Regions from separate parts of the Homo sapiens genome. Here all the other regions are linked to region 1. Evidence: promoter capture Hi-C in human tissues and cell types (Jung and others, 2019). All regions are on one chromosome and are shown on one strand. The core of a region is centred on a gene start or on the middle of the fragment in contact, and the rest is flanking DNA. Distances in the headings are between cores, read along the strand shown. Region 1 holds the start of MLNR (motilin receptor). Region 2 overlaps FNDC3A (fibronectin type III domain containing 3A). Region 3 overlaps FNDC3A (fibronectin type III domain containing 3A).

What was found. The method cuts DNA at HindIII sites, captures the fragments that hold promoters and counts their contacts. A contact is called where the count stands out against the background at its distance.
Region 2: a contact is called between a fragment that was not itself captured here and the fragment with the promoter of MLNR in region 1, in 2 of the 25 tissues and cell types used here (heart left ventricle and lymphoblastoid cells).
Region 3: a fragment that was not itself captured here is called in contact with the fragment with the promoter of MLNR in region 1 in 3 of the 25 tissues and cell types used here (IMR-90 fibroblasts, bladder and dorsolateral prefrontal cortex).

Annotation. Positions count from the first base shown.
Region 1 is chr13:49,218,431-49,222,851 of GRCh38, forward strand. It overlaps MLNR (motilin receptor), which reads left to right and starts at 1,908. Exons shown (of 2, transcript NM_001507.1): 1 at 1,908-2,808; 2 at 3,610-3,947. The coding sequence starts at 1,908. The coding sequence ends at 3,947. RefSeq lists silencers at 1,338-1,594, 1,531-1,790, 1,861-1,940. The HindIII fragment of the contact is 10,157 bases long and covers 1-4,421 here.
Region 2 is chr13:49,146,925-49,151,520 of GRCh38, forward strand. All of the region lies in intron 8 of FNDC3A (fibronectin type III domain containing 3A), which reads left to right. Among named protein-coding and RNA genes, the nearest start is that of MLNR, 71 kb to the right of the region's middle. The HindIII fragment of the contact is 5,171 bases long and covers 540-4,596 here.
Region 3 is chr13:49,127,448-49,131,928 of GRCh38, forward strand. It overlaps FNDC3A (fibronectin type III domain containing 3A), which reads left to right. Exons shown (of 26, transcript NM_001079673.2): 5 at 3,690-3,927. Among named protein-coding and RNA genes, the nearest start is that of MLNR, 91 kb to the right of the region's middle. The HindIII fragment of the contact is 7,041 bases long and covers 1-4,481 here.

The sequences.
Region 1 (4,421 bases), core at 658-3,157:
GAAGAGAGCTAAAAAGAGAGCGGGCGGAGGTCAGAAAGAGGGCTGACTGAAGTGGAGGTGGAGGAAGGCTGGCAGGCAACCGTGAGGTGTAAGTTCCGTCGACAGGCGCGGCTGAGATCGGGTGGAGAGCAAGGTCATAGGTGGAAAGGAGGTCAACAAACTAGAGGCCAAGGCATTCCAAGACTCGGCATGGGTGTGAACGGCCGCAGATGCAGTGCTTCAAAGAGAGCGCAGGCACCTGTCCCTCAGGGACTACGGGTGACCACGGAGGAAAGCGCTAGGGAGGGCGGTTTTAGGACCGCTGGAAACAGCAGCGATGAGGGAGGCGACAGGTGTCCCTCCTCCAAGCTCACAGTCTGCATGTGAGAGAGAACTGCAGGAGAAGCTTGCCCTAGGCAAAGCCAGGTGTCAGGTCCAGAATCGAGACTCCAGAGAAGAGGTTGAGGATTTAAGCCACTGAGGGGGTGGAGCTGGGCAGTGAGTAGGACGTCAGGCTTGCAAGCTCTGGGATTAGGCCGACCAGAGCCCATATCCCAGTCCCGCCTCTTACTGCCTGCTTGATCTCAAGCAAGACCGCTTTGTTCATGGGCGAAAGGAGCGCCCCGGGCCATGAGGATTAAATGGAGAGCACAGGGCCAGATCCATCTAAATTCTCAGTAAGTGTTAGCTATTGTTATTAAGACCACACCGAACAGACTGAACATCCGTTTTAGCCCCTTTCCCCAATTTTCGTTCTTTCCGGTGTTGACAAATCCTCTAGTTTTTTAAGTTTATAAAACATGTTGTACATAAGAATGACATATCACATGTGAAAGTACTCTAGTGTCCACGTAAATATTTGTCTTGTTCTTTATAATAAGTAAACATGCTCACGGATCCTTGAAATTATCTGGTCACTGCCGGGCGCGGTGGCTCACGCCTGTAATCCCAGCACTTTGGGAGGTCGAGGCGGGTGGACCACCTGGGGTCAGGAGTTCGAGACCAGGCTGGCCAACATGGCGAAACCCTGACTACACAAAAAACACAAAATTTAGCCGGGGCTTGGGCGCTCCTGTGCTCCCAGCTACTCAGGAGGCTGAGGTGGGAGGACTGCTTGAGCCTGGGAGGTCGAGGCTGCAGTGAGCTGTGATCGCGCCACTTAAACTCCAGCCTGGACGACAGTGAGACCCTGTCTCAAGAAGAAAAAAAGAAAGAAAGAAAGAAAAAAAGAAAAAAAAGAAATTATTTGGTCAATTATATGGTCAGCTCCCTCCACCACTCGCGAATTTACAGAAGAGGAGAACTGGGCTGGGCGAGACCAGGACTAGCCCAAGATTACACAAGTTACTCGGTTGTAGAGCCAGGATTAGACAGGAGAGGCTCTAGATTCTGGTCTAGACTCCCCTCCTATTATTTAGCATTATGGCTTCCTGAGGATTACCATGAGCCCTCCTCCACCGTCAAGCGGCAGCTACCAGCCACCAGACCAGATCCCTTCGAAGGTGCCCGGAGTACCAGACTGACAAAAGCGCCCGTACAGTGCTCAGTCCTGTAACCAAAGCTGTCTAGGGTGCAGACATCGCTCACCGGACCGGGTAGGGCTCGTGCGCTAAGGGCGCCGGGTATTCCAGTTAGTGGAGAGGGAAGCGCCCTGGAACTGCATGGGCCCGGGAGAGGGCGCGGGAGCGGAGCAGGGCCGGGCCGGGGCGGGCCGCGGCCGTGGGCGGAGACTGCGCGCAGCTAGCTCGGGAGCGCCTCGGAGCCCACCCCGCAGAGCCGCTTCTCGCGCCCCGCAGCGCAGCGCAGCGCTCCGCCGTCTGACCTGCCGCGCCCGCAGCGTGCGGGCTGGGAAAGGAGGCGCTCACCGAGAGGGACCACGCGCCAGGCTCCCAGCCCGACCCGGGACGCGGCGGCCGCGCGGAGCACCCATGGGCAGCCCCTGGAACGGCAGCGACGGCCCCGAGGGGGCGCGGGAGCCGCCGTGGCCCGCGCTGCCGCCTTGCGACGAGCGCCGCTGCTCGCCCTTTCCCCTGGGGGCGCTGGTGCCGGTGACCGCTGTGTGCCTGTGCCTGTTCGTCGTCGGGGTGAGCGGCAACGTGGTGACCGTGATGCTGATCGGGCGCTACCGGGACATGCGGACCACCACCAACTTGTACCTGGGCAGCATGGCCGTGTCCGACCTACTCATCCTGCTCGGGCTGCCGTTCGACCTGTACCGCCTCTGGCGCTCGCGGCCCTGGGTGTTCGGGCCGCTGCTCTGCCGCCTGTCCCTCTACGTGGGCGAGGGCTGCACCTACGCCACGCTGCTGCACATGACCGCGCTCAGCGTCGAGCGCTACCTGGCCATCTGCCGCCCGCTCCGCGCCCGCGTCTTGGTCACCCGGCGCCGCGTCCGCGCGCTCATCGCTGTGCTCTGGGCCGTGGCGCTGCTCTCTGCCGGTCCCTTCTTGTTCCTGGTGGGCGTCGAGCAGGACCCCGGCATCTCCGTAGTCCCGGGCCTCAATGGCACCGCGCGGATCGCCTCCTCGCCTCTCGCCTCGTCGCCGCCTCTCTGGCTCTCGCGGGCGCCACCGCCGTCCCCGCCGTCGGGGCCCGAGACCGCGGAGGCCGCGGCGCTGTTCAGCCGCGAATGCCGGCCGAGCCCCGCGCAGCTGGGCGCGCTGCGTGTCATGCTGTGGGTCACCACCGCCTACTTCTTCCTGCCCTTTCTGTGCCTCAGCATCCTCTACGGGCTCATCGGGCGGGAGCTGTGGAGCAGCCGGCGGCCGCTGCGAGGCCCGGCCGCCTCGGGGCGGGAGAGAGGCCACCGGCAGACCGTCCGCGTCCTGCGTAAGTGGAGCCGCCGTGGTTCCAAAGACGCCTGCCTGCAGTCCGCCCCGCCGGGGACCGCGCAAACGCTGGGTCCCCTTCCCCTGCTCGCCCAGCTCTGGGCGCCGCTTCCAGCTCCCTTTCCTATTTCGATTCCAGCCTCCACCCGCCGGTACTTCCCATCCCCCGAGAAAACCATGTCCTGTCCCCCAGGAGCTCTGGGGGACCCCAGGGCGCTTTGAGGGTGGGATCCCCGGATCCGATTCAGTAACCAGCAGTGCTTTTCCAGAGCCTCTGAGACCAGAAAGGAGAGTTGGTAATTCTTAATCCAACCACCTGTTAGATGCCACAGATGAGGAGTCCTCACAGTGCTCTTGAGAAGACGAGGGAGATTTCATTAAGCTAAAATTTTTTATTTAATGTTAAGTGATGCTGAAGGCTAAAGTAAACCTTGCTCGTATCAAAAAGTAAAGATTGTGCAGACCTGTTGTAGAATTCTTTTCAACAGAGAACAGAAAACTTGTCTCCGAAGTGGGTTTGTGGAAGGAAGCCTGCCAAGGCGGCTTGTTCAGAGAAATTGCTCCTTCTGGTTTATGTCCAGCCTTGATAACACATATGGGAGCCTACTATGCAGTTTTAAAGCAAGTATCCATGCAGCCTGCAGCCTGGTCATTTTTTCTGGGGTGAGGATCTGCCTAGGTAGAAGTTTTCTCTAATTTATTTTGCTGTTACTTGTTATTGCAGATGGTTCCTTGTCGGGGTGGGGGGTTTATTTGCTTCCCAATGCTTTTGTTAATCCCGGTGCTGTGTCTTATGTTGCAGTGGTGGTGGTTCTGGCATTTATAATTTGCTGGTTGCCCTTCCACGTTGGCAGAATCATTTACATAAACACGGAAGATTCGCGGATGATGTACTTCTCTCAGTACTTTAACATCGTCGCTCTGCAACTTTTCTATCTGAGCGCATCTATCAACCCAATCCTCTACAACCTCATTTCAAAGAAGTACAGAGCGGCGGCCTTTAAACTGCTGCTCGCAAGGAAGTCCAGGCCGAGAGGCTTCCACAGAAGCAGGGACACTGCGGGGGAAGTTGCAGGGGACACTGGAGGAGACACGGTGGGCTACACCGAGACAAGCGCTAACGTGAAGACGATGGGATAACCAGCACGGCCAAGCCAGGCTCCTCTTGCAGTTCTAAGACTTTGGGGAAAACAGGTGTGTAGAGAAATAAAGACTGCAAATGAGGAACAGATCCTGTTAAGAAGAATGGAAAGAGGGTTGCAGTTGTGCCAGTTGGTTAAGAAATAGACCGCATGATTTATTTAACCAAGGTATGAAATGTAACTGCGCCAACCTTTCTAGTTTCCTTCCCACGTACCTCCTAAGGAAGGTCGATTTTACCATCATGAAATCCCACATCTCAAAGTGTGCTCTTGTGTGATGGTTTCATGAAGTCCTCATTCTCCTACTCTTCGGAAAGATGATTGTTCATTTTACAGTTAAATGATACACAAAGATGCTGCCCCAAAACTGCCACCTCTGAGATCATGAGTGTATTTTATGTTTTGGATGTAAATGTAACAGTACATCTACAAGGAACCAGGATAATGATAGTTTTGATCCAAGAAATGATTT
Region 2 (4,596 bases), core at 1,875-4,374, 70 kb before region 1:
AGGTGATGGTTAATCATTTGAATGATCACAATTAGCACAGAACACTGGCTCCATCAGCCTTGTTGCTATCTTTTTTCAAAACATAGCTGGCAAGGAGAAGAAAGGAAAGTGAAACTGCTCCGGTGCCTCTCATCTAGTTACATAAGGTTATAAAAATTTCCTGTTTCCTCTCTATTGAGATTTCCTTGTGTTCTATTCATTTTTCTTAAGAGAGACAAGTAAACCTAAGGGGTAAGTAGGGGATAAAGGACTATCAACATAAAGGTTTCTTACTATGTTAATGACTGTTTTTTAGTTATATATGGCTGCTTACTAAGAGGAATGCTTTATTTCCATTTGCAGCCTGACCAGGGAGCACGAGGGGGGCATTAGTCATCTCCCATATCCTACAGGAATTAAGGTCTCTAAGGATGCTACTGCAACTGCCCAGTTCATTAAAATGTACTTTCAGCCTTGAAACATATTTATTTTTCATCATATTTACTGGCCTTGATTTGAGAAATAGAGTAGCTGGGAGGTAAGGGGTGGGGAATGGAAAGAAGTCCATAAAGTGGAGAGGAGAGAGACTTGGTGGAAGGAAATGAAATAGGGAATCGTGATTTTAAGTTTAAAAAAAAAAAAAGTAGGGAATAGGCTGGTTTGCGGCTACATACCCAAATAATATTCTGTTGTGTATATATACCACATTTTCTTTATCCCATTCATCCATTGATGGACACTTAGGTTGATCTATATTTTTGCTCTTGTCAATAGTGCTGCAGTAAATGTGGGAAAAGCACATCTCTTCAATATACTGATTTTTCCCCTATTTGGAAAAATACCCAGTAGTGGGATTGCTCATTTGTATGATATTTCTATTTTTAATTTTTTGAGAAATCTCCACACTTGTATCCATATTGGTTGTACTAATTAACATTCCACCAACAGTGTATAAGGGCTTTTTTTCTCTGCATCCTCACCAGCATCTGTTATTTTTTTGTCTTTGTAATAGTAGCCATTCTAACTAGGGTAAAATGATCTCATTGTAATTTTGATTTGGATTTCCCTGACTAATGATGTAGAGTATTTTTTCATATACCTGTTGGCCATTTGTATGTCTTTGGAGAAATGTCTATTCATGTCCTTTGTCCACTTTTAATGGGATTATTTGTGTTTTTCCTGTTGAGTTGAATTCCTTGTATATTCTGGATATTAGTCTTTTGTTAGATGAATAGTTTGCAAATACTCTCTCCCTTTCTGAGGGTTGTGTCTTCACTGTGTTGGTTGTTTCCTCTGCTGTGCAAAAGTTTTAGTTTATTTCTCTATTTTTCTTTTTTTTGTTGTTGCCTGTGCTTTGGGGGTCTTAGCATAAAATCTTTGCTTAAACCAGTGTCCTGAAGTGTTTCTTCTATATTTTCTTCCAGGATTTCATAGTTTCAGGTCTTAAACATTTAAGTCTGTAAGCCTTCTTGTGTTTATTTTTATGTAAGATGAGAGATACAGTCCAGTTTCATTCTTCTGCAGGTGGATATCCAATTTTCCTAGCAGCATTTATTGAGAAGGGTATCCTTTCCCCAGTGTATGTTCTTGGCACCATTGTTAAAAAGTCATTTGGCTATAAATTTATTTCTGGCTTCTCTATTGTGTTCCTTAGTTCTTGTGTCTATTTTTATACCAATGCCATGCTGTTTTGATTACTATAGTCTTGCAGTATATTTTGAAGTCAGGTAGAGTGATGCCTCCAGCTTTGTTCTTTTTACTTAGGATTGCGTTGGCTATTCAGGCTATTTTTTGGTTCCATAGACATTTTTGGATCACTTTTTATATTTCTGTGAAAAATGACATTGGTATTTTGATAGGGATTCCATTGAATATAAATTGCTTTGGACAGTATGTTCATTTTAATGGTATTAATTTTTTGAATACATGAGCAATGGATGTCTTTTCATTTGTTTGTGTTCTCTTCAATTTCTTTCATCAGTGTTTTATAGTTTTATCTTGTAGAGATCTTTCTACCTGTTATATTAGATTTATTCTTAGGGTGTTTTTTCTTTTGTAGCTATTGTAAATGTGATTGCCTTTTGGGCTTCTTTCTCAGCTAGTTTATTATTAGTGTATAGAAATGATGCTGATTTTTGTATTTTGATTTTATATCCTGCAACTTACTGAATTTATTTATCAGATCCAAGAGTTTTCTGGTGGAGTCTTCAGATTTTTCTACATGTAAGATCATGTCATCTACAAAGAAGGACAATTTGACTTTTTTTTTTTTTTTAATCTGAATACCTTTTATTCCTTTCTCTTGGCTGGTTGCTCTGGCTAGGACTTCCAGTACCATATTGGAGTGGTGAGAGTAGGCATCCTTGTCTTGTTCGAGTTCTTAGAGGAAAGGTTTTTAGACTTTCCCCTTTCTGTATGATGTTAGCTATGGGTCTGTCATATGTGGTCTTTATTATGTTGAGGTATGTCCCTTTAGTGCCTAGTTTGTTGAAAGATTTTATGAAGGGATGCTGAATTTTATCAAAATTTCTCTACATCTATTGAGATGATCATATAATTTTTGTCCTTCATTATGTTGATATGGTGTATCACATTATTGATTTGTGTATGTTGAGCCATCCTTGCATCCCTGGTATAAATCCCACTTGATCATGGTGTATTGTCTTTATAATGTGCTGTTGAATTCAGTTTGCCAGTGTTTTGATGAGGATTTCGTGTCCGTGTTTATCAAGGATTAGTCTGTACTTTTCTTTTTTTGTTGTGTCCGTATCTGGTTTTGGTACCAGAGTGATGCTGTCCTTGTAGAATGAGTTAGAGAGAATTCCCTCCTCTTCAATGTTTTTGGAATAGTTTGAGGAGAATTGGTGTTCCTTAAAAGTTTGGTAGAATTTGTCAGTGAAGCCATTGGTCCTGGACTTTTCTTTGTTTGAAGACTCTTTATTACTGATTCAATCTCATTACTCGTTATTGGTTGGTTCATATTTTCTATTTCTCGCTGATTGAATCTTGGTAGGTAGTATGTATCTAGGAATTTGTCCACTTCCTCAGATTTTTCAGTTTGTTGGTGTAGGTTGTCCATAATAGTCTCTGATGATTGTAACTGTGTTATCAGTTGTAGTGTCTCCTTTTCCACTTCTGATTTTATTTGGGTCCCCTTTCTTCTTCTCTTGATTAGTCTAGGTGGTGGTTTAGTTCTGTTCTGATTTTTTATTTGTTTTAGAGATGGCATCTTGCGATGTTGCCTAAGCTGGACTCAAACTCCTGGGCTCAAGTGATCCTCCCACGTCAGCCTCCCAAGTACCTGGGACTGTAGGTGTGCACCACTGCACCTGGCTGTCTGCTCTGATCTGCACCACTGCACCTGGCTGTCTGCTCTGATCTTTATTATTTCTTCCACTAATTTTGGATTTGGTTTGTTCTTGCTTTTGTAGTTCTTGAGATGTGCATTGCTAGATTGTTTATTTAGACTCTTTAAGCTTTTTAATGTAGACATTTATTGCTATAAACTTCCCTCTTGGCACTGCTTTTGCTGTATCCCATAGGTTTTAATATTTTGTGTTTCCATTTTAATTTGTTCCAAGAATTTTTTTTTTATTTCTTCCTTAATTTGTCCCTCTACCAGTGGTCATTCAGGAGCATGTTGTTTAGTTTCCAGGTAGTTGCACAGTTTCCAGAGTTCCTCTTGTTATTGATTTCTAGTTTTATTCTATTAAGTTATTAGAAAATATATGATATAATTTCAGTGTTTTAAAATTTCTTGAGGCCGGGCACGGTGGCTTACACCTCTAATCCCAGCACTTTGGGAAGCCGAGGTGGGCAGATCACGATGGCAAGAGATCAAGACCATCCTGGCCAACATGGTGAAATCCCGTCTCTACTAAAATACAAAAAATTAGCGAGGTGTGGTGGTGCACGCCTGTAGTCCCAGCTACTCGGGAGGCTGAGGCAGGGGAATCGCTTGAACCTGGGAGACAGAGGTTGCAGTGAGCCAAGATGGCACCACTGCACTCCATCCTGGCAACCCAGCAAGACTCCGTCTCAAAAAAAAAAAAAAAAAAAAATTGTTGAGACCTGTATTGTGTACTGACATATGGTCTACCCTAAAGAATGTTTCATGTTTCATGTGTTGTAAAGAAGAATGTGTTTTCTGTAGCCTTTGGATGAAATGTATTCACAAAGGTCAGTTATGTCCATTTGGTCTAATGTGCCATTTAAATACAATGAAATTTCTTTGTTAATTTTCTGTCTAGATGATCTGTCTAATGCTGAGAGTGGGGGGTTGAAGTCCCCAACTATTATTTTATTGGAGTCTGTCTCTCCCTTTAAATCTAGCAATAATTGCTTTATATTTCTGGGTGCTCCAGTGTTGGGTACATATATGTTTAGAATTGTTATATCCTCTTGCTGAATTGATCCCTTTATCATTATATAATGATTTTGTCTCTTTTTACTGTTTTTGACATAAAGTCTGTTTTATCTGAGTGTAGCTACTCCTGCTCACTTTTGGTTTCTGTTTGCATGGATTATCGTTTTCCATCCCTTTACTTTCAGTCTGTATGTATCTTTACAGGTGAGATGAGTTTCTTGTAGACAGCATATAATTGGGTCACATTTTTT
Region 3 (4,481 bases), core at 315-2,814, 91 kb before region 1:
CAAAACTGCCCTCTTCAAGGTCACAGTAATGTCTACATTGCTAAATCCAGTGGTCAGATTCTTAGTCTTCCTCTTGTTTGACCTATCAGCAGCATTTGACACAGTTAATCCTTCCTCCTTGACATGCTTCACCAAACTTCAGACTCTATACACTGTCTTAGTTTTCCTTCTGCCTCGCTTGGTCATCCCTTCCCAATCTTTCCAGAATTGCAGACTAGTATATCTTAACAGTCTATTCAACATTTCCACTAAGTTGTCTTATAAACTCTTCAAACTCACAAGTGCAAAACTTGAAACTCCAAATCTCTTCCCCTGAAAAAAACTTGTTCTACTCCACAGCCTTCCTCATCACATTGATGGAAGACTATTGTTCCCTAACTTCTTTTTCTCACTTCCCACATGGAATCATCAGCTAATCTTGTCTTGTTTCTCTACTTTTTTTTTTTCTTTTTGAGATGGAGTCTTGCTCTGTTGCCCAGGCTGGAGTGCAGCAGCACAGTCTCGGCTCACTGCAACCTCTGCCTCCCGGGTTCAAACGATTCTCTTGCCTCAGCCTCCTGAGCAGCTGGGACTACAGGTGCGTGCCACCATGCCCAGCTAATTTTTGTATTTTTAGTAGAGATGTAATTTCACCATATTGGCCAGGCTGGTCTCGAACGCCTGACCTCATGATCCACCCACCTCGGCCTCCCAAAGTGCTGGGATTACAGGCGTGAGCCACTGCACCTGGCTTCTACTTTTAAATATATGCAGAATGTGGGTCACTTCTCACCATCTCCACTGCTGCTTCCCTGGTCTTAGCTGTGATCATCTCTTGCCTAGATTACTACAGTAGCTTTCTGAATGGTTTCCCTGCTTTTGTCTTTGCCTCCCTACGATCTCTTCTCAACTCAGCAGCCAGAATAGTCCTGTCAAATATAAGGTTACATCAGGAATTCTCAACCATAGTAATGTAAACATTTGAGGTGGGGTGATGTTTTTGTTGCCCTCTGTGTTGTAGGTTATTTAGCAGTATTCCGGGCCTCTCTACTTTCTAGGTGTTAATAGTGCACCTCCCCCACTGCCCCGAGTTGTGACAACTATAAATGTCTCCAGACCCTACCACATATCCTCTAGGAGTCAGAAACACTAGATTTTATCACTCTTCTGCCCAAAACTTTGTGATGATTTCCCATTCCACTGACAGTAAATGATGAACTCCAACTCCTTAATAGTAGCCTGTGTCGTGGTGCCTGACCTGACCACCCTATCACCGCTTCATTTCTTTGACTTCATCTGCTTCTGCCTTTGCTCCTTTATACTCATGCAGTCACACCAGCTTCCTTTCATCCCTTGGGTATAATCAGCCCCACTTCTACCTTAGGGGCTTTATTCTAACTGTTCCCTCTTCCTAGAACAAATCTTCCAGATTTCTACATAGTTAATTCCTCCACTTCCTTCAAGTTTCTGCTTAAGCTTTTCTTTGCCAGTAAGGCCTACTCTGATCCCTGTGTTTATTCTGTAACCTGCTCCTTTCTCACAACACTTCTAATAGCCCTTACCTGCTATGCCTTTTCCATAGTATTTATCACCTTGCAACATGCTAAGTAACTTACTTGTTGTGTTTGTCTGCCCCTGTTAGTGTGGGTTCCCCACAAATATTTAATATATCATTCTGAGGTTTTTCCCTCTTTGAATTATCAGTTTGTTTTGCTGAAAAATAGTGTTTTAAATGAGTGGAGAAGGTAAAGTTAGAGCTAGAATTGGAAGGATAGACAAGATTATTATAGATTAAAGGGAAGCAAAGTGAAGAAGAATAATTGCATAAATAAAAGTACAGGGTATAGAAATGTATAGTCACTGTGAAAACAGGTTTTTTATTATACCAGCCTGACTGCAGTTAATGGTTCAGGATTTGTTGCAAAAGAACGATACAACTTAGAAGGTAGTTTGGAACCAGGTTGAATGAATATGAAGTACAAGCCTCTTGGAAATGGCTCCGTTTTTTAAGATTTGTGAATTGGAGAGTGATAAAGGTGAAATGAGTATTGTGACAGATACTGTGATTTGGCTCACTTAAAATCCATTTCAAACTTCTTCCAGTGTTCGTTCCTGTAGGGTAGAAGCTAAAAAGCTATCAGCAGTTCCCAGATTCCCTTCAGGTAGGGTTCTAGATATTGTTTAGTTCCCATCAATCATATATGTTTGCTTGAGACTTAAATTCAGAACTGAGTTAAATAGGGAGAAAGGGGTCTGAGGCATCCATTTTGCTGAAAACAAGGCATTATGGTTCTAGACCCAGCATATTAAAAACAGTTAATTCATTTGGTCATCTAGTCCCCTGTTAGAAGAGTCATGTCACACTCCAGTAGGTAAGGATAGTTTAATAATCTAATTAATGTTTGTAATTTAGGCTTATCTATACCCAGATAAGTGTGTTTTCTAGTATACCTATACCTACCAAGCACATATATTTATAAAATAATTTGCTATCCTTAAGCATAATAAACCTTTGCCTTCCTGAAAATCAGGATTTGCCTTTAAATTAGCACTTAACATTATGATCATTTTCTGTTTCCTGAGGAAGGTATTAGCCATTTGTTATACCTTAATAATTACCATATAAGTCTAAAAGAATAAGGGCCTTATTTTAGTGAGGGATTTCTAATTTTAAGATAAAGTCCTTTAATTTTTTAGGGTTTCCTGTGTGTCTTTGCAGCTCTAGTAAGGTTCAAAGAGGAGTAAGTCTTGTCATTTAAAAAAATTTATCCCCACGGTGTAATTCCTGTTTTTTGTTTTTTGGTTTTTTTTTTTTAGTTTGTAATTTCTAAGCCTCAAAGCCACAGATATTTTTCCTAGCTAGGAGTTAATATAGTAATATTCAGTATTTGTGTCCCTTGAAATGATCAGCTGTTAAAATTGTCCTGGTCATGGTCATAAGAATTTTACATCCAAATTCTAACATGTCATTGATTATCTGATTGAGTCTGGATCCAGTTGTTTTGTTTTCTATTTGGTCTTTCCACAACTTGTTTTCCCCTACTCCTAGTCATAATATAGAAAAGGAAATTGATTCCTGAACCTCTTGTGTCTAAACCAAAATTACTCCATCAGGAAATGCACATAACACATAGGATAAATATCTAGTATCATAACTTATTAGGTTACTCTTTAGCTTGTCTAATCAGTGTTTTAAGATTTATATTGAATTGTATAACAAAAACTAATTCATTTTGTTTAGTGCTAATTTACATGTACCAATATATTTAATAAGTTGTTTTCATGTTGATTCTCCAAATTTTTAAAATTTCTAATGGTGTAAAAATTCTTACTCTTACATTTTTATTTTATTTTATTTTTGAGACAGAGTCTTGCTCTGTTGCCCAGGCTAGAGTGCAATGGTGCTATCTCGGCTCACTGCAACCTCCACCTCCCAGGTTCAAGCAATTCTGCCTCAGCCTCCCAAGTAGCTGGGATTACAGGCATGGGCCACCATGCCCAGCTAATTTTTGTATTTTTAGTAGAGACAGGGTTTCGCCATGTTGTCCAGGCTGTTCTCGAACTCCTGACCCTAGGTAATCCACCTGCCTCAGCCTCCCAAAGTGCTGGGACTAGAGGCATGAGCTACCGTGCCTACCCTACTCTTAACATTTTTAAAAGAATTGTTTATATTCTATGGAAGAAATTTTAATCTGATGTTCATTTTGTAGGTTATTGAAGACAATGGTGTTCGAAGAGTTGTCGTGGTCCCTCAGGCACCAGAGTTTCACCCTGGTAGTCACACAGTTCTCCACCGTTCTCCACATCCTCCTCTACCTGGTTTCATTCCTGTCCCAACTATGATGCCGCCTCCACCACGTCATATGTACTCACCCGTGACTGGAGCTGGAGACATGACAACACAGTATATGCCACAGTATCAGTCTTCACAAGTCTATGGAGATGTAGGTAAGACATCTAAAAGTATTCCACTGTTATTGAGTTGGATATTCTTCGCTTGGATATAATAGATGCCATTATCATATCACATTAAAAAAACAGCAAATGGTAATGATGTAACAGGCATTTTTCTTTTACTCAAGTACTATATTAGGTGCTTCATCCTCATGATCACCCTTCAAGGCAGGTAAGTAAACAGAAAAATCAAAGAAGGGAAGTAACTTATATCATGCAGCACTACTTAGTGGTGCCACATTCAAACAAGAGGTCTTTTCCTCTGGCCTGCAATCTAGGCACTGAGAAAATTTTCAGCCAGGAATAACCATGTCATTGTTAAATCCTATTGGCTGTGATGCCACTACACAAAGCTGCTAAGCTCTGTGAGGGATTGAAAAAACAGGATAAGCCATAACCTCTGCCCTCAGGGAGTTAATAAATTTGGGGAAAGTTAATAAATAAAGTTAATAAATATATAGGCTACCAAACATAAACACAAAATAATACCTTATTATGTCCCATAGCTTTAAACACTGCCTTAAACAGTGCCAGACTTATTCCTGACT